Linked DNA regions of Homo sapiens: region 1 is linked to region 2. The links are contacts of gene promoters, found by promoter capture Hi-C in blood cells and fetal thymus (Javierre and others, 2016). All regions are on one chromosome and are shown on one strand. The core of a region is centred on a gene start or on the middle of the fragment in contact, and the rest is flanking DNA. Distances in the headings are between cores, read along the strand shown.

Region 1 (2,700 bases), core at 193-2,692, 170 kb before region 2:
CAGGCAGATCACCTGAGGTCAGGAGTTTGAGACCAGCCTGGCCAACATGATAAAACCCTGACTCTACTAAAAATAACAAAAATTAGCAAGGCGTGATGGCACATGCCTGTAGTCCCAGCTACTTGAGAGGCTAAGGCAGGAGAACCACTTGAACCCAGGAGATGAAGATTGCAGTGAGCTGAGATCATGCCATTGCACTCTAGCCTGGGCAACAGTGATCTCAGTCTCAAAAAAAAAAAAAAAAAAAAAAAGGAAAAGAAAAGAAAAGGAAAAAAAAGAGTATTTATTTCTTAGGAAGCCCCTAGTACAAGTGGGGAAATGTGAGAAGTGGATAAGTTTACCCATTAGGGACAGGAAGTTCTCTCCAGAAATAATGTCTGATTTCCTGCTGCCAAAGGCTGTCAGCCCTGCTGCTCATTTTGCTTCTATAGAAATATGATAGCCTGTTTCCTTCCCTCTACTCCTGATACTCCCCAAACCTGCCCTTCTCCACACCATAGGCTATCAGCAACACTTTTCCAGAGACTGTGCCGCTGTCGCCTCCTCTTCCCTGGTTGACAGACCCATCCTTGCTTCTCTCCCAAAGTGGGGCACAACAGAGGGGACAAAGAATCCATGTAGTCACCCACCAGTGGCATTCTTTCAGGAGAAATCGTGGTCTCTCCCAAAAAAGCATGCATCTGCTTCATAGAAACCTTCACTTTGGCATTACACAAAGCAGAATGCCACCCCAGCAATATTCTAGTTGGAGGAGGTCTTTATACAATACCCATGGGGCAGAAAACCTCAAGGAGAATGCCAAGAATTAAAAAGAACATGAGCCAACACTGCCCTGGGAGAGGATGAGATGTAGGAGTGAATATTAGCCTATTTCCCACTGTTATCCTTTTTGGGGTAATGTTTTTATGTGCAGTATTTTTTGAGTATTAACTTCTTGCACAGTGATGTTATAGATACACAGCACATATAAGAACATGGACTTCAGTCAAAATACTGGGTTCCATGTCACACACCCCTCTTTGCCAGCCTGATGGCCTTTTGGTTTTCTCGTCTGTAAAATGGGCATAATTACACCAAATACATCATGGGTTGGGAAGGATTCAGAAAGACAATTCACACAAAGCATATGCATAGTAAGCATATGCATACACAGTAAACCCTCATTAAATATCACCAATGAGCATTCTGGCAAACCAATTTTGTCAGATAAAGTTAAGAATTTATCCATAAGTTAAGATCTTGGCCAGGCATGGTGGTTCACACCTGTAATCCCAGCATTTTGGGAGGCCAAGGTGGGTTGCTGACTTGAGCTCAGGAGTTTAAGACAAGCCTGGGTAACATAGTAAGACCCTCTCTCTACAAAAAATAGCTGGGTGTGGTGACTCACGCCTGTAGTCCCAGCTACTCAGAGGCTGAGGTGGGAGGATCATTTGAGCCCAGGAGGCAGAGATTGCAGTGAGCCAAGATCTTGCCACTGCATTCCAGCCTGAGTGCTACAGTGGAACCCGGTCTCAAGAAGAAAACAAAAGATCTTAATCCATATACAATAACTAAGTCTAAAATGATGCATAATATTTGAAAATCTCTGCAGAAAAAGAAATGTGAAAAATAATTTTCCACATTGAAATATTAAAAAATCAAGATTACATGGCTCGTGCTATTTTTTTAAATGTGCTATTTTTTAGTGTGTATATTAATTAGTAACTCTGCATACACATTGAAAATTGAGCTTCAATTTTTGCTATATTAATCAAAAGTTGATTTATTATAATCAGGCATTTCTTTTGATATGCATGCTAACCCAGAAGAATCTGGATCAAGATTCCTTATAGCATATTAAGTTTTAAGCAATGGAATAATTTTTGAGTTTTAGTCCTAAATTTCTTAAACCTTAAATATATCAGCAATTTCTCAAACTCATGTGTATAGCCTCTTATTTTTACTTAACATAGCTTACATTTACTTGTTATAAAGCTCTCATGAAATGAGACAGGCAACTGAGATACATGTACTCCAGGAGTAGCCACAGCAGAATGGCCAGGTCCCTATGCCTACAGTGCACTAGGAAACCGAGGCATGGTGTGGCTTAATGTTACAAGCACTTTTATCTCCTGCAGAGTAAGATAATGTAAAAAGCCAGGTACTGGGAGTCCAGAGACCAAGTTCAAACACCAGCTCCATCACCTCTAGCTGAGATACACTGGGCCCTCTGCTTAACCTCTCAGAGCCTTGGTTTCCTAATTTTTTATGGTATAAAGAATACTACTTTGTAGTATAGAATTTTTTAAATAAAATTAAATGGGAATATGAAAGTACCTAGCACAAAGGAGGCATTCAACATGTGTTAATTTCTTTCCATCCTACAATTCATAAAACAAATTTCCTGTCCACATTGCTTTATCAGATACTTAAATGCAAGCACTATGTGTTCTTGGTCCTCAAATGACAGAAATGAAGTAACAATAAATGAGCGAACTGTCTCAGTAACTGTCTCTCTCCTGTACAGTAAGGAATTATCCTTGGTACATCTCACATGACTCTATAATGTGTGGGGAATGGGCTCTACAGGGACCACTCCATGTGTCTTAGTCCCTCAAGTGTAAAAAAGAGATGGACCTTAGTTTCCATGCACTGCCTCATTTTATGCTTATTTTAATATATATTTTTCTCATAAGATGATTTTAAAAGTTAGACTGTCTT
Region 2 (2,700 bases), core at 158-2,657:
GCGGTGGCTCACGCCTATAATTCCAGCACTTTGGGAGGCCGGGTAGATCATTTGAGGTCACAAGTTTGAGACCAGCCTGGCCAACACGGTGAAACCCCGTCTTGACTAAAAATGCAAAAATTAGCCGGGCATGGTGGTGTGCCCCTGTAATCCCAGCTACTGGGGAGGCTGAGGCGGGAGAATTGCTTGAACCCGGGAGACAGAAGCTGCAGTGAGCCGAGATCGTGCCACTGCACTCCAGCCTGGGCAACAGAGCGAGAACCCATCTCAAAAAAAAAAAATTGTTATTTTGTTGTTATTGTTGTTTTTGAAGACAGAGTCTCACTCTGTTGCCCAGGCTGGAGTGCGGTGGCATGATCTTGGATTGTGTTCTTCCAGGGTTGCAGAGAGAAGTGCAACAGCGTCTCATTGCAACCTCTGCCTCCCAGGTTCAAGCAATTCTCCCGCCTCAGCCTCCCAAGTAGCTGGGATTACAGGAGTGCACCATCACACCCAGCTAATTTTTGCATTTTTAGTAGAGATGGAGGTTTCACCATGTTGGCCAGGCTGGTCTCGAACTCCTGACCTCAGGTGATCCGCCTGCCTTGGCTTCCCAAAGTGCTGGGATTACAGGTGTGAGCCACCATGCCCAGCCTAAGAATAATAACTTTATAACTATGAAAAATGTGTTACATATTCACCATTTTGCCAGCATTAATCTCAAAGCATAAGTTTTACCTTTTGGGGATAAAGAGATAGATTGTGTTTTAGCCATATGACCAATGTAGAAACAAGCTAAGGTTAACTCCTCATCTAATGAATAGGCCCGATAAAAAAGTTGGTTGACCACAACATGAATAAATAAATAACCATAAGCTTGGAAATGCTACCTGTAGTATTTCAGAGTGTCGATCACATTTGTAGTCATCACTTAAAGAATTAATGTCTGCCAATGTTATCATCTAAAATGTATTTACAGAGGTCAGAAGAGCTATGTCTGTCCTCCTCTATGCAAAGAGGTGATGACATCAAGGGGTATGTCACAAGCCAAAGTTTAGTTAGCCTAAGTTAGTTAGCTGGTTTGCAGTTTTTATCCACTAAGTCTGATCTTCTGACCCCTCAGTTTTACAACTTTCCACTCTCTGTGCTGCATAGCACCTCTCCACTTCTGAGTTAATCATTTCTTTGCCATTATCTGGCAAGAATTCTTATCTCTTTTGCTGTCACTTTATAACAGGGTCCTCTTATCAACCTGCATAGAGTCATGTGATGAGTCAAAGCCTATCAAAAGTTTCCATTCTTCTGATTAGAAACCATCATGAAACTGGATACATGGTTTACAGCAGGTCACTAATGTTGGAAAAAGTACAGAGTCCAGGGAAAGACTTGCTTGTAACTTTATGAATTCTGGATTTTTTTTTTTCCTTTGCTTTTTCTTAACTTTCACTAAGGGTTACTGTAGTCTGATGTGTCCTTCCCAAGGCCACGAAATTTGACAAGCTGCACTTTTCTTTTGCTCAATGATTTCTGCTTTAAGCCAAAGAACTGCCTATAATTTCACTAAGAATGTCTTCTAATTCAGATACTGGGGATTTACAAGAGTCTTTAAAGCACGGACTTACACCTATTGGTAAGTAGGAGTTTCTCTATTGATCATCTATTTATTCTGCTACTACATACATATAATTTAATCTTGTTGATGGATTTTGCATTTTAAGTCATGGCTTTTCCTATTATGTTTATTAAAAGCACACAATAAGCCTATGTATATATATCACACATTTATCTTTCTTGCAGTTCAAAAAAAGCAAATGGATATTTCAACATATGAATATTATTCATTATATCTAGTGTTTACTGGTGTCATTCTAATACCCTAATCAGCCAGAAAATATAATTTATACTTTATCAATTTCAACTTTAATATTTTCTGATAATTTTTAATCAGAAATAATAAGCTAAAATTTGAACAATTTGAAACAAGTTAATCATATTGAGTGATCATTGATCAAACTTTAACAGATAGCTGTCAAGTATTTGTTACTTTTCAACCCACACAAAAGTATGGTGTCTTATTCTCTGCTTATACCGTAAAAAATTTTCATTTTATTTTCCTGGGGAATGAAAGTCATGCCCCCACCTCCAAAAAAAAAAAAAAAAAACCAAAAAAACTAGACCATCATTAGTAAAGGATTTGAAGAGCTACTGTTTCTCGCAACAATTAGTATATTTTGTTTTTACAAACAGAAATAAGTAAATAAAGCTACTATTCATTTAAAAAATAGAGTTACAAACTTATGAATTTTATAGCAAGACTACATTCAATTAATTCTAAAAGTAAAGGACTGAAGGGAAGTGATTCCCAGTGATCTGTAATTATTTGTCTGTTGGAAGTCAGGCCCTTCTGCCTTTCCCCAGTTTTTGAAGGACCTGTGCCTTTTCTGGCAGCATTTGCCTAGGCTTTCAGACTGGAATTTCCCTCCGAATTTGCAGGGGCCTGTCATGAGCTCTCTGAGTCTCAGCTCCATTATAACAAGAAAGAAAATCAAGGCTTGAGTTTTTCCTCTTTTTTCCTTCCTAGTCAGCTGACTCCACAGAATGCAGTGGAGTCACAGATTGCTTTTTTTATGGGCCAACTACACCCTAAAGTATATCACTTGAGGAAATGTTTACCAAAAATGTTCTATACTTACGAAAAAGAAAACATGGGGAAGGTAAGCA

What was found. Contacts are between HindIII fragments. The CHiCAGO score rates a contact against its expected background, and 5 or more counts as called.
Region 1: a fragment that was not itself captured here is called in contact with the fragment with the promoter of NR5A2 in region 2 in 1 of 17 cell types (megakaryocytes); the score reaches 5.1 in megakaryocytes.

Annotation. Positions count from the first base shown.
Region 1 is chr1:199,860,823-199,863,522 of GRCh38, forward strand. No RefSeq gene overlaps it. Among named protein-coding and RNA genes, the nearest start is that of NR5A2, 170 kb to the right of the region's middle. The HindIII fragment of the contact is 5,888 bases long and covers 1-2,700 here.
Region 2 is chr1:200,026,303-200,029,002 of GRCh38, forward strand. It overlaps NR5A2 (nuclear receptor subfamily 5 group A member 2), which reads left to right and starts at 1,408. Exons shown (of 8, transcript NM_205860.3): 1 at 1,408-1,609. The coding sequence starts at 1,546. The HindIII fragment of the contact is 3,447 bases long and covers 854-2,700 here.